Regions from separate parts of the Homo sapiens genome. Here all the other regions are linked to region 1. Evidence: promoter capture Hi-C in 16 types of primary human blood cells and fetal thymus (Javierre and others, 2016). All regions are on one chromosome and are shown on one strand. The core of a region is centred on a gene start or on the middle of the fragment in contact, and the rest is flanking DNA. Distances in the headings are between cores, read along the strand shown.

The links. Contacts are between HindIII fragments. The CHiCAGO score rates a contact against its expected background, and 5 or more counts as called.
Region 2: a fragment that was not itself captured here is called in contact with the fragment with the promoter of GRM3 in region 1 in 1 of 17 cell types (megakaryocytes); the score reaches 5.5 in megakaryocytes.
Region 3: a contact is called between a fragment that was not itself captured here and the fragment with the promoter of GRM3 in region 1, in 1 of 17 cell types (megakaryocytes). The highest score is 5.3, in megakaryocytes.

What each region holds. Positions count from the first base shown.
Region 1 is chr7:86,641,497-86,646,556 of GRCh38, forward strand. It overlaps GRM3 (glutamate metabotropic receptor 3), which reads left to right and starts at 2,413. Exons shown (of 6, transcript NM_000840.3): 1 at 2,413-3,376. The HindIII fragment of the contact is 6,723 bases long and covers 1-4,081 here.
Region 2 is chr7:86,826,889-86,831,948 of GRCh38, forward strand. The region is part of intron 3 of GRM3 (glutamate metabotropic receptor 3); the gene reads left to right. Among named protein-coding and RNA genes, the nearest start is that of GRM3-AS1, 26 kb to the left of the region's middle. The HindIII fragment of the contact is 1,149 bases long and covers 2,594-3,742 here.
Region 3 is chr7:86,788,116-86,793,175 of GRCh38, forward strand. All of the region lies in intron 3 of GRM3 (glutamate metabotropic receptor 3), which reads left to right. All of the region lies in intron 1 of GRM3-AS1 (GRM3 antisense RNA 1), which reads right to left. Among named protein-coding and RNA genes, the nearest start is that of GRM3-AS1, 13 kb to the right of the region's middle. The HindIII fragment of the contact is 2,560 bases long and covers 1,375-3,934 here.

The DNA of each region.
Region 1 (5,060 bases), core at 1,163-3,662:
TGGGTTCAAGTGATTCTCCTGCCTCAGCCTCCCTAGTAGCTGGGATTACAGGCACCCACCACATGTTCAGCTAATTTTTTGTATTTTTAGTAGAGAGGGGTTTTCACCATGTTTGCCAGGCTGGTCTCAACCTCCTGGCCTCAGGTGATCCACCCACCTCAGCTTCCCAAAGTGTTGGGATTACAGGCGTAAGCCACCGCCCCCAGCCTACAGGCCATATTTAAAAAATCACTGTAAAGAAGTCCAAGTGTTAATGGTAAAGACTCCTAAGAAAAAACATCATGATTTAGTTACTCAAACAAATATAGATGAATTAGTGAAATTTAGATAAACTAATAAAAATATGAGCTACAAGGAGTGATCTAGATGCCCAAATACATGTGTTTCACTTGAAAAATATTTGAGAAACTTGATACATCAGATGTAATTAAGAAAAGGAACTAGGATTGTTTAGAAATGGAGCCCAGCTAGAATACTTGGGGAGGGTGTGAAGAGAGGGATAATGTAATCTCTTAATTGACATGTTACTTAGTCAGAGGTTTTTATTTAGACCTATCCCTTGAGGCTTTTAAAAGTAACTCGAAAACACACACACACACACACACACACACACACACACACACACACACCAACAAATAAACATTAAAAGCCAATCTATATTCCCGATCAATGACGAATTTAAACAGTGAAGACTAATTGCTTTCAATTAAATATGCTCAACAATTAAAATACCATCAGTTAACTATTATATAAACCAGGGATTTTTAATAGTAACTAATATTTATATGCTTCTTACATGGATTTACTAATCCTCAAAATAATTCTGAGGTATGAGCAATTGTTATTCCCATTTTACAGATGATGAAACTGACATATAGGCAGGTTAAGAAACTTGCCCAAGTTCACGCAGCTAGGAAGTGATGAAAATTCAGGATTCACATTGAGGAATTCCTTTGTGTGTATGGCGTAACGTGGGAGAGGAAAGAAGTGTCTCATCAGGCAATATCTGATAACAGACTGATAATTTGCCTCAGCATTTCAGCCTCTACTCACCACAAGCCTTAGTTAACAGCTAGATACAGACTATGGAGTGCAGTTTATCAGCACTTTCCGTTGTGCAAACATCAGCTACTTTTGTGTGTGTGAGACAAAAACATCAGCTCTCTTCTACTTCTCTCAATCCCAGCTAATTCTGATAAGGTCTTGGAAGCGCAAAATGATGTCTTCTGGAACGTTCTGAAAGAGACCAAAATCTACCCACACAGCTTCATGAGGATCTGAAGCCTTGCAGTGTATAAATCTTTATCTTTCTCATGTTCATGTCATTGCCCCTTGATATACAGTTGTCTATTGGGCAGACATTGTTAAAAGTAAATAAATTCTTAAAATTAAAATTAAATTCCTATAAAGATCTTTTTTTGGTGAACAATTCATGCTGGAAAATACTAATGAAACACAAAGGAAGAGGAATTTTGCTTGTACGTGGTCAATGCTATTGCATTCCAGAAAGAATACGTTGAAAGGGGGACTTCTAAAATTTTAGCATTTCACTATATAATAACACTTTATTTTTTAATATATTCAAATTTCTGGATCTAGTGGAGTTCACAATGAAATATATATATATATATATATATATATATATATATGCACATGTGTCTTTTAAATATTGCTGTCCCTCTAAAAGAATCAGTAGGTAAAATTATTTCTGTAGTTTAAAAGTTCTGGCTAGGTTACAAAAGACAGCAATTGTTAAACAACTTAACATTAAATATTAAAGACTAAATGTAGCATTTAAAGCATTAAGTTTAATTGTGTCTGGCTTCATATAATTCAGTCCTTGGTTAATACAAAGTTAGTATATTAGAGTACAAAAATTAATGAAGTTTCAATTTGGAAATTAAACAGTATGTGTTTCTAGACATAGAAAGATGCCTGGAATTTTACCTTTAGGATTTTATCTGTAGCTGGCAGCCTATTAAAGCTGTTTCCGCGTGCCTTTTTCTCTTTTGTGCCTACGTCACCGATTTAAGGTTCCTATTTATTTATTTATTTTTAAGAAGAAAGAAGAGGTTCTGTAGGAAACATTGACTGTATCCGACAACCATAGCAGGACTAGAGAAGGACCAATGAGGGGGTGCTGGGGGTAGCTTTAAGAGGCGAGGTGGTAGCAGAAAAGGATAAGAAGAAAGATAATTCAGCAGTCCCCTATAATCTTATTCCACCCAAGAAATTTGGGAGAATGCGAAAAAGCAGCAGCCCAGCATTCCCGGATGGGCGTGGCTTTTCTCCAGGGGCTGTCCAATTGAATTCCTTCAGAGGGAGAAGATTGATAAGGGTTGCTAGGAAACAGGAGCGTCTGCCTCCCGCCTGACCCAGAGATTGTTCTGCACAAACCCTCTCCAGGGGCTCGCAGTGTGCAGTTGAGTCGCGAGTACGGCTGAGCTGCGTACCGGCCTCCCTGGCTCTCACACTCCCTCTCTGCTCCCGCTCTCCTAATCTCCTCTGGCATGCGGTCAGCCCCCTGCCCAGGGACCACAGGAGAGTTCTTGTAAGGACTGTTAGTCCCTGCTTACCTGAAAGCCAAGCGCTCTAGCAGAGCTTTAAAGTTGGAGCCGCCACCCTCCCTACCGCCCCATGCCCCTTCACCCCACTCCGAAATTCACCGACCTTTGCATGCACTGCCTAAGGATTTCAGAGTGAGGCAAAGCAGTCGGCAAATCTACCCTGGCTTTTCGTATAAAAATCCTCTCGTCTAGGTACCCTGGCTCACTGAAGACTCTGCAGATATACCCTTATAAGAGGGAGGGTGGGGGAGGGAAAAGAACGAGAGAGGGAGGAAAGAATGAAAAGGAGAGGATGCCAGGAGGTCCGTGCTTCTGCCAAGAGTCCCAATTAGATGCGACGGCTTCAGCCTGGTCAAGGTGAAGGAAAGTTGCTTCCGCGCCTAGGAAGTGGGTTTGCCTGATAAGAGAAGGAGGAGGGGACTCGGCTGGGAAGAGCTCCCCTCCCCTCCGCGGAAGACCACTGGGTCCCCTCTTTCCCCAACCTCCTCCCTCTCTTCTACTCCACCCCTCCGTTTTCCCACTCCCCACTGACTCGGATGCCTGGATGTTCTGCCACCGGGCAGTGGTCCAGCGTGCAGCCGGGAGGGGGCAGGGGCAGGGGGCACTGTGACAGGAAGCTGCGCGCACAAGTTGGCCATTTCGAGGGCAAAATAAGTTCTCCCTTGGATTTGGAAAGGACAAAGCCAGTAAGCTACCTCTTTTGTGTCGGATGAGGAGGACCAACCATGAGCCAGAGCCCGGGTGCAGGCTCACCGCCGCCGCTGCCACCGCGGTCAGCTCCAGTTCCTGCCAGGAGTTGTCGGTGCGAGGTAAGGGTCCCAGAGGAGGACGTGTCCCTCTGGAGGGCGCCCAGCCAGGGCGCGGAAGCTCGGGTGCCGCGTGGGGCAGGCGCAGCCGGGAAAGTTGAGGTAGAGCATGGACCAGTCCCTACAGTCCTGACTGGAGTGGGAAGGGTGGAGGGCAGAGGCGATGTGGGTGTGCATGAGTGAGAGTTTGTGTGTGTGCGCCCACGTCTGTGTCTGGGAGGAGGGAGATTTCAGGGCATAGATCTGCGGCCAGGGTGCGAGAGGTGAAGGGACGAACTAGCACTCGCAGACCCCAGAGAGACCAGTCTCATCAGCCAACCACCTCCATCTCAGCTCTGGGCTCAGAATTTGTTTCTATTTGGGGGCTCCCTAAGGCTTTGTGCACAGGAATCCGTGGATACGGGCGGTTTCATGTGGGTGTGGAGGTTGCAGGCAGAGGTGGGCAACGGTCAGCGAGACCTGGTCCATGCAGCCCAGATAAGCTCCGAAGCCGGAGGCGGCCAGAGGTTTGCCCTCCCGCAAGCAGGGTTGGAAAGGAGCCTTAACTCACTGCCCTTTGCTCCTTTTGGCTTGAGTGAAAAATCGAAAAGCCAGACAGGGAGCATATCTTTTCATCGACCCTGTTCCATTTTCTTATCTGACAGTGAGATAACTCAGAGAGGGCGGGAGATTTGCGATCCAAAAATAGACTAGGTGATATATCCAATAAGCTTGTTTCTTAAGGATTTCATTTAAATTTCTTTCTAGTTATTCCTTGGGTTATCAAAGGTGGACAATTCTCTAAGGTACAACACTTTTAGGTAAATATATTAAGGAAGGATTCTCCCACTTTAAGTATTTTAGATATTGTAAATTTTGAAAAACAAAACTATACACCTCTAAAGATCTTTGGTTAAGGACTCAACTAATTTGCTTATAAAAATATTTCTACTATTTGAATAGTAATAGATATGTTTGGGGTCTATATGTAGGTACATATTGGAATATTCAAAGTTGAGGTTAATGTGAGTTGAGGTAGGTGTGAGTTAAGTACCAACAATAGTTCCTTAGAGTTTCTTTGCTTGAATTTCTTAGAACTGTCCAGCACAGCTACAGTATGTTTCTTTGTGGTGGGCGGGGGGGTGGGGGTGGGGGGGTGGGGGGGGGTGGGAGGGAGTTTAGGGGGTGGAGTCTGCTTTGGTTTATCTGATCACACACTTTAAGATTCCTCTCTGAATTCTAATTGTTTGCAGAAGTATATTCAATATAGGCATTACTAAAGTAATCTAGATTGCCACTATGCTAAACTATGGATAACAGTTCCTAACAAAGATGCTTAGGACACTCTAATGAATAAATATGATTCTATATTCCTACGTACCTTGTTTCTAAAATCAGCCCAATAGAATTTGAATATATTTGGAAGCTATTGTATGCCAGAAATTATTGTAATACTTTTCCTTTCACAATGGGTAGTGTTTTATATTTACAAAGATTTCTTACACCTGTAGACTTTAGCTGTCAATCTTATTGGGTTTTGATCACCCAGCAGGAGTACATAGATATTTTGAATATACATGCCCAAAGGCTATCTTATGTTCAGAGTAACACAGGAGCTCAGGATGGAAAATGAGGAAAGGAAGTCTTGAAACCTATACCTTAACAAATAAAACAATGAAATTCCAGAATATCTACCTTTATTAGATGA
Region 2 (5,060 bases), core at 1,918-4,417, 190 kb after region 1:
TCAAGGCCCTTAAGATTCACATTTAATTGGCCGGTATTATGACTCAGGCATTAGCATGATTTTTAAGTTCCTGAGATGATTCTAATAAGTCTAATTGTTTAGGAAACAATGTGTCCAGTGTTCCTTAATGAGAGTACAAAGTTGAATGAGAAATCATCCCTGTTCTGGAGAGGCTTAGGAATAGCAAAGAGATGGGCACACACTGAATATTTTTCCAACATATTATAGTCCATTTCCTTAAGGTCAAACGCACAATACACTATGTCAGCACAAAAGGAGAGCTGATACCTTAAAGATACAATATTCTTCTGAAATGTTTTTCAGTACCTGAAATCCTCACATTTTAGAATTATATATTTGTAATCTTGAAATAGGTAAAGATTTCTTAAACAGAATGCTGAAAGTCTTAGCCATAAAGTAAATAATTCATAAATTGGAAATTGGCATTAAAATTAAGAATTTAGGGGCATTAAAACTAAAGACTGTACTGGGCATTAAATTTTAGAATTTATGTTTATTGGACAAAACTAAGAAGCAGGTGAAAAGGTAAGCCACAGAGTAGATATTCACAACACATATATCTGAAAAGTAGTCATATCTGGAAAATATAAAAAACTCATATAAATCACTTTTTTTTTTTTTGAGACAGAGTTTTGCTCTTGTCCCCCAGGCTGGAGTGCAATGGCCCTATCTCGGCTCATTGCAACCTCTGCCTCCCGCATTCAAGCGATTCTCCTGCCCCAGCCTCCCGAGTAGCTGTTATTACAGGCGCCCACCACCATGGCCAGCTAATTTTAGTATTTTTAGTAGAGAAGAAGTTTCACTATGTTGGCCAGGCTGGTCTCAAACTCCTGACCTCAGGCGATCCACCTCCCAAAGTGCTGGGATTACAGGCATGAGCCACCACGCCCACTGTCAAATTTTTAAAAGAGAGAAAAATCCAGGCCGGTGCGGTGGCTCACACCTGTAACCCCAGCACTTTGGGAGGCCAAGGCGGGCGGAACACAAGGTCAGGAGATGGAGACCATCCTGGCTAACACGGTGAAACCCTGTCTCTACTAAAAATACAAAAAATTAGCTGGGCGTGGTGGCAGGCACCTGTAGTCCCAGGTACTCGGGAGGCTGAGGCGGGAGAATGGTGTGAACCCGGGAGGCAGAGCTTGCAGTGAGCCGAGATCGTGCCACTGCACTACAGCCTGGGCGACTGAGCAGAACTCCGTATCAAAAAAAAAAAAAAAAAAAAAAAAAATCCAATACAAGTGGACTGGAAAAGGTACTTTATAAAAGGGTATTTATAGACATTTGATTGACTTATGAAAAGGTGCTCAATATTATTAGGCATTGGGGAATGCAAATTAACTACCAAAAAAATCACAACGAGATACCGGTACATTTTCACTCAAATATCTAAAATTAAATGACATCATTATGAAGCATATGAAGCAACTGAAACTCACATACAATTTACTATTATATACAAATACATACACACTATATACACACTTTTGCACATACACATATAGGCATATTTCAGAAATATTTTACATTCAGTTCTAGGCCATTGCAATAAAGCAAAATTCACGATAAAGCAAGTTACATAAGTTTTTTGGTTTCCAGTGCATATAAAAGTTATATTTACACTATACTGTAGTTTATTAAGTGTACAGTAGCATTATGTATTAAAAACAATGTATATACCTTAATTTAACAATACTTTATTGCTAAAAAATGCTAACAATCATCCCAGCCTTTAGCAAGCCATACTCTTTTTGCTGATTGACGGTCTTGCCTCAGTGTTGATGGCTGCTGACTGATTAGGGTGGTGGTTGCTGAAGACTGAGGTGACTGTGGCAGTTTCTGAAAATAAGAAAACAAGGAAGTTTGCCACAATAATTGAATCTTCCTTTCACAAGATTTCTCTGTAGCGTGTGATGCTGTTTGACAGCATTTTACCCACAATAGAACTTTCAAAATTGGAGTCAGTTCTCTCAAATCCTGCCACTGCTTTATCAACTAAGTTTATGTAATATTCTAAATCCTCTCTTGTCATTTCAACAACGTTCACGGCTTCTTCACCAGGTGTGGATTCTATCTCATGAAACCACTTTCTTTGCTCATCCATAAAAAGCAACCCCTCATCTGTTTTAGTTTGATCATTTAGTTTGCAGCAATTCAGCCACATCTTCAGGCTCCACTTCTAATTCTGGTTCTCTTGCCATTTCCACCTCATCTGCAGTGACTTCCTCCACTGAAGTCTTGAGCCCTTCAAAGTCTCATGAACCATCCTCTCCTAGCTTTTTCTTCTGCAATTCCTCAGCTTTCTCAGACTTCAAATAATTGAAGATAATTAGGACCTTGAGCTGGATTAGGCTTTGGTTTAAGGGAATCTTGCGTCTGATTTGATGTTCTATCCAGACAAGTAAAACTTTCTCCATATCAGCAATAAGACTCTTTCACTTTCTTACCATTTGTGTGCTTGCTGGAGTTGTGCTTTTAATTTCCTTCAAGAACTTTTCTTTTGCATTCACAACTTGCTTAACTGGTGCAAGAGGGCTAGTTTTGAGCTTATCTCAGCTTTCAACATGCCTTCCTAAGCTTAATCGTCTCTAGCTTTTGACTTTAAGTGATTCTTTCTTTCACTTGAACACTTATAGACCATCATAAGGTCATTAATTGGCCTAATGTAAATATTGTTGTGTCTCAGGGAATAGGAGGCCTGAGGTGATGGAGAGAGATAGGGGAATGGCCAGTCAGTGAAGCAATCAGAATCAGCAATCACAACATTTATTAAGATCACCATCTGACCTGGGTACAGTTTGCGGCACCTGAAAACATTTATAATAATAGCATCAAAGATCACTGATCACAGATCACTATTACAGATATAATAATAATGAAAAAGTTGAAATATTGCAAGAGGAGTTGCCAGAAAGTGACACAGACACATGAAGTGAGAGCATGCTGTTGGAAAAATGGTACTGATAGACTTGTTCGATGCAGGGTTGCTACAAACTTCCAATTTGTAAAACAAAACAAAAAAGGAATATCTGTGAAGCACAATAAAGCAAAGTACAATAAAATGAGCTATGCTTATATATGTATATCCCAAAATTTATATACAAGAGTCTTCAAGGTAGCATGTAGAAAATGCTGTCAGTGCCTCACTTGTATCTTCTTACCACTCACTATTCTCAGACATGCCAATGGCTTCTCAATAGAAGTATCTGTGACTCTCTGCCAGAGAGCTTTGTCTGGTCAGACAGCCTCTACCTATAGAGAACATACCAAAAATGCCATGAAGTTACCACTCTACCATAAACCAATGACAAATGAGAGTTGTCCCATCCAAGCTGATGAGTAAGCTGGGGTTTTATGTCCCAATTTCCACTCCACTGTCTCCCACAAGGCCCCAGTGAGGCTGAGACCCACTTGCCCTCAGCAGTAACTTGGTCACTGACACATCCTGTATTGGATTCATTCCTGTTTGTCTTATTTCTCCATTGCCCTATAACCTCCCAAATCAACTACGTGAATTCAAATTTAGTCTTGGGGTTTGCTTCTAGGATAACCCAGCTAAAGATAGAACATTGTTTATATAAGTTAAAAATTGAAAGAAAATTTTTTTAAAAATGTCCATCAACAAAAGAATGGATAAATTGTGGCACATCATATGATAAAATACTATGCATCAATAAAAATAAACTAGAGCTCCTCATCACTACATGATGAATGAATTTCATAAAGCTTAATTTTGAACAAAAGATGTTAGATACAAAATAATACATACTTACATTAATATAAAGTTCAATATCAGGCAAAATAGTCTGTGGTTGTTATGAGTTGAATTGTGTTCCCCAAAAAGAGATATTTTGAAGTCATAACCCTAGTATCTCACAATATGACCTTATTTGGAAATAGTGCTTATACAGGTAACCAAGTTAAAATAAGGTCATTAGGGTGGGCCCCAGTCCAATATGGCTGGTGTTCTTACAAAAAGGGAAAATATAAACACAGAGACACAAGGAGAACACTGTGTGAATGTGGAAGATCAGAGTAATGCATTAACAAGCCAAGGAACACCGAAGATTGCCGGCATACCACCAGGAGCTAAGAGAGAGGCATGGGAGAGATTCTCCCTCACAGTCCTCAGAAGAAACAAACCTTGCTGACACCTTGATTTCAGGCAGACCATGAGACAATAAACTTCTGTCATCTCAAGCCACTCAGTTTGTGGTACTTCGTTATGGCAGCCCTAATACACTAATACAATGGTTGTAGAAAGTAAGATAGTGATTGCCTTTGGGGCTGAGGAAGGGTGGAATGATAGGGACGGGAACAAGGGAACTGGTAATGCTCTGTTTCTTAACAGTCACAGTGTTACATGTGTGTGTTCACTTCATGATAACCCACTTTTTCAAAATGCTTTTTTTTGTATGCATTAAAACTCAATGAAAATTTTTACAAATCTAAACACTTATTAGAGCAGATGAGAAAAAAGCAGTACACTGTGTAATGAAGAGGGCAAGAGTTGGGGAAAAGAAGGTAGGAAAAAAATGTGATAGTATCTGTAGTTCACATTAAAGAAGGTCCCTAAGCAAAGATTCAATGACCACTATGGACTTTCAGCTCAAATAAATCAGGTTAGCCCTGTCCCCTGAATTGCGGGTAGGAGGATTGGAATCTCCATAATTTCCACTCATTTCTATTTTCCCTATGCCCCTACCTCCCCATTCTTCCTTCTTAGTCTGAGAGTAGATTGTTTCTGAGTTGCCTAGAGTATTGACAATTTCAACAATAATACGTAGAATCTAGATAGAAAAACCAGTAAAATTTATAATGAAGACTAACCATGGTAACATTTCAAGGGAACTGAAGAGAGTCCTCTTCAAAAGTCATAGCACCGTTAAAAAAAAAAAAAAAAAAAAAGCTATTTTAGTATCTTTTCTCAAACATTCACTTTCTCTGTGGCATGTTACGTATTTACTGAGTGTTTTCCACACGTAAGACTGAGTACTGAAGACATCTAAGTGGTGCTTTGTCCCAGCTGTTATACTCAGCTG
Region 3 (5,060 bases), core at 1,405-3,904, 150 kb after region 1:
ACTCAGGCATCGTTCCAATCTGCACAATGTCTAGTCTGCTTCCACAGAAGTATCATCCAAGACCTGAAAGTTTATATGCTCAGATCATACTACCATTGGCGCAAATGGCAGTTCTCACATCTCCCTTATAAGTGGTCACTCAGAAGTCAAGTGGTCTATGAAATCACAGGTAATAATGAAAAAAATGCCTCATGACCATTGGCTTCTATTCCATAATTCTTACCTGCAAGGCAGCCTTGAAAATAAGCACAAAAATCACCACACTGCATGTTGCATAACTTCTTTACTTTCCCCAGAGAGGGCCGAAAGTAGTCAAAATCAATTATGTCAGTAATTCCTCCAATTAATCTGATGGATACCACTTCTTATCATTAGAATGACTACTAAAACTGGTAAAGATTAAACTTTTTCTGTGCCCTGTATTCCCATGAGTGTATTTCATATAGCAATAACAAAAATAAATAAATAAAAAGAGTAATAAATGAGCATTCATCTTCAAATCCCAGGTTAGTTCCTGTTGACATCTCTAAAAATTGAGAATGGACCTTGGAGTCAGTAAAAAAAGAATATCTTTACTCTAAAAATAAATTAACTCTCAGGTATTCGTAAAAGGTATCTGCAATGCACTTAATTCTTAAAGATGAATAAGAATTCAGCACATACTCCCCATCAGACTACCCTTCAGGGTATTATTTATCTTTACTCACCACATATATTAATTAACTTTGTTATTCTAGTTCCTTTCTTACTTTTTAGTATGCAAATATACAAATATATTCACTCATCAACAGCTAAAATAAAATGAACGCTTAGAATTCAGAGAGCCTTTGCAAGGTGTTTTATGGAACCAAAACATGTTCCTTCATTCCAGTGACTTCTTGGGTCTTAAAAGGCAAAGAAAAGTAAAGAAACAAGCCCATTATTTGGATAAACAAAACAAAAGTATCCTCTTTTTGTCTGTCTTGTTCAATTACTCTTTTCAAGTCTACCGTTCAGTTTGGCTGTGCAAACCTGACCACAAAGTGCTATTTTAGCCTTCTCAATTTGACAGACATTACCAGTCATTCTCCATCTCTGAAGAGAGTAGGAGGGTGAAAAACAGATTTAAACTACATAAAAGAGAGGGAATTTAGACCAGCCACAAGGTAAATATTCTCAGCAGTGAGAATTGGACAAGAAAATACATTACTAAGGGAGGATACCAAAATGCTAAGTTAGCTAACTAGTACATTTAAAAAATAAGTCAAAGAACTAACTATAGTAATAGAATGCAGATTTTAGCTTACAGTAACCTGTATATGACTAAATATATGTATATTTTTAACTTAGAGCTAGGTAAAAGATTATAAGTATGTATGCATTATTACTGCTTTAAGCTTGAGATGCACTATGGAATATTTTTTCCTAGCTATTGAAAAGCAGATTTGTTTTACTTTTTTTCTGAAACAGTATCTTTGTTTTTTCTAACTTGAATATTGTGGCAATAAACTAGGCACAATAGTACACACTTAGCAGACACTAAACAGTCTGTTCAATTAGGCTGAAAAAAGTCTTCTTCTGGCTATTTGCATGTACTCAATACATTTACTCCAAGATTCTTCTGACAAGGGACACTTTTAGCCAATTCCCCAATAGCTCTCATCATTATAGGATTAAAAAACTAGGCCTCCTGTGAATTTAAAAATAGATTAAAATACTCCCTGGTACTCAGATGTGTTCCCACTAGCTAATTCCAGCATTGGTCAACATGGATCTTGTTTGAAGCTAACCCAGTTTAAATATTCCTTTTGCAAAACAGATTTTTAGAGCTATGCCTTGCTAAAGATTCTTCCAAATAGTAATCTCTCCTGGCACAGGAGCTAACCACTGCCCAGGTCTCTAGGCTCATCTCCTGCTGTACACTCCACATTCACTCTTCCTTCCATTAGCACTACTTGCAGTTCCCCAAACATGGCATGCCTCTATTTTTGCCTGCATACTTCCTGTGAATGCTATTTCTTTATCTAGAAGATTCTCTCCCCACCCCCACCTGCCTTATCTGGCATCTTCAGTGATTCCTGTGTCTCTTTGAGATCCAATTTAATTGATAGTTCCTTTAGGAATCATTCCTATACTTCCCAAACTAAGATAAATGCCCCTTCTTATGCCCATATCCATCTGGGATTTTGCCTTCCTTCATACTTTATATCCAATACACCAAAATCTCTTGTTGGCTCTACCTTCAAAATAGATCCAGAATCTGATGACTTATCATCTTCTCAACTGCTACCACCCTGGTCCATACCACCATCTCTAGCCTACATTTCTGTGATAGCCTCCTAGTTGATTTATTCTTACCTACTTCAACCTAGCCTCCACAATCTATTCTCTACATGATAGCCAGGATGCCCTTTTAAAATCTAAGTCAAAGTCCTTCCTCTACTCAGAACCACTTGAGTTCCCTTGTTTCACTCATAGTGAAAGTCAACAGCCTTACAATGTCCTGCACACCACCCTCCCTGCTCTGCCCCTACCTATCCTGACTGCTCTCCTGTCCTCACCTTTTACTCTCCTTCTTTCTCACTTCACTCCAGCCACCCTTGTTTCCAACATTAGGGCTTTTCCACTGCCAGTTCTCTCTGCCTATATTGCCCCTAACCCAGATATTTCTGTGGTTAATCCATTCCCTACTTCTTTCAAATATTCATGTAAATGTTATCTTCTCAATGAGACCTACTCTGGCCATTCTTAACAGTGTAATGCATTACCCCCAACCCCCACTACAGATGCCCCTATTTCCCTTGTACCCTGCTCTACCTTTTGTTTTTTCACCCCATGACATTTTCCCCTTCTGTCATACTACATCATCTATTACTTTCATATTTAGTCTTTATTGTTTGATCCTCACACTAGAATATAAGCTCCACAAAAAACAGAAATCATTATCAATTTTGTTCACAAATGCATCCCAAGCATAAAAGGTGTTCAGTAAGTGTTGATTTTGAATAGCAGTTAACCCAAACTTACGTTTTCTTCTCTACCTTTATTACTAGCTTGTGGGCTCTTTCAAGGCATGGTACATATATTTCATCTCTGATCTCAAATACTCAGCATGGTTTCTGGCATAGAGCAGACATTATGTAAATGTTTACCAAAGGAATGAGAAATTATAAAAGCAAGCAATCAATTTATAATATGATTGCTTTGAAAAAATTTTAATATATAAATTTTGTTCATTAACAAATGAATGTCAAGAAAGGAAAGTGTATGACTTCTAGAGTGGCTTGCTTTTTTACCTAAGTACTCTCTTTTAGTTATATTCTATCATTTCATTTGAGATAAATGTAACCAAATATCATTAAAGCTGGAAGAGACCCATCACTGTTTTATAGATGAATCCCAAGAATTGAAAGTGATTCGCCCAAGATCAGTCAGCTGGTTAGTAACAGGGGCCAGGACTGTTAGCTCGTTAGTAACAGGGGTGAGGTGAAATTCATGTCACCTGACCCAGTGCTGCTTTTGCATGTGCACGAGGACTCTGGGAAATTGATGTATTTGATCCCAAACATCTACCACAGTTTCTGATCCATTCTAAATATTAATGAAATGCTATTGAAGGAATGAAAGATGATCAATAGGTTTATAGTATGTTTCCTTTTTTTATTTCTTTTTAAGATACCTTTAATGCTCCTGGTCTACTTTTTCAGTTGACACAAAGGTGGTTCATCAAACACCCAAACTTTGAACGCTGAGCCTTGGATTCCAAACCTTAGTATATTTAAAAATAAATAAAGTTTCAAATCATTTTTTAATTGTTCAGTAAAATTATTTCCATGTGCAAGAGTTATGTCATCCAGAATCCTAAAGTAAATATTTAAATGAGAATTATGTTTGGTGTCATGTGAATTTTCAAACTTACTTTGAGTAAAATTTCAGAATTTATGATGTAAAAGAAAGCTTAAACTATGCAATACAGTTAAGAAAAAGGAAGTCGAGAGGTCTATGAAACATCTAAAGAAATGGAATATCACTGTGATTGTGTTCACAGTACAGTACATTCTTTCTCACTTTTTATCCTGAGACCAGTTCCAGAAAGTCGAATAGAATAAAATCATAGAGTTACAAAAGGCCTTCCTCAAAGATGAGCTTGCCCCTACTTCTCACTTGACAGAGGTGAAAATTCAGGATGTCAGCATTATTATCTTCACTTACTGAAGCACATAAAAATGAACTCAACTGTCAGAGTGATGTGGTAACTGGAGTATACCCAATTTGAAGGAAAAAAGAAAGAGCTTCCATTTGCTAAGCATAACTGCCAGAAGTGCCCCAAGACACATCCAATGTCACGTAGGCATTATCTCAGGAATAACATTTATGCCATTCCTCTCTGCAATTCTTAGGGTTAGGCTAAACTGTTTGAGAATGGAGAAATTGAGAACTTGACACAAAAGAAAATTCATCCAAGTTCACATAATGAATAGGTGACAGAGTAAATGCCAAGGTCCTGATTTAGTCATTCATTCCACAGATACGTTTAGATGTCATGCTGGGACCTGAGGACCCAACAGTAAACAAGGCAGATGCAGTCCCTGCTTCATAGAGCTTACACAGACATTTAACCACCAAAAACAATTCTAAAGTATAAAAGCATGATTATTATGGCTTACAATGTTAGGGTGTTGCCCTAGGATTTTTGTTCTGCTTTGGTTTGGATTGGGAAATTACTATGTATCTTACACCCAGAAAAGATCTAGGATCCCTGAAGAAATCTTACTCCCAGGGCTTCACTTATATGTGAAGAGGACAATTCCCTGTTACTGATGGACTCATCATAACAGGACTGAATAGTATGTACAGCTAAGCTAAGACAGTTTTCTTTTTTATTTGTTTGCTTGGTTGGCTTAGTTCATTGGTTGGTTGCCTTTTTTTTTTTTTTTTTTTTTTTGCTACCAGTGAAGAGACAGACTACTGGGATCAGAGACCTAGAGCCTGGTGGAGACAGTCCAGCCTTCTTCTTATGTTTACAATTCTCTACACCTGGAAGAGGAGAAGAGGCAGAAAATGGGTAGTCCAGCCTTGCC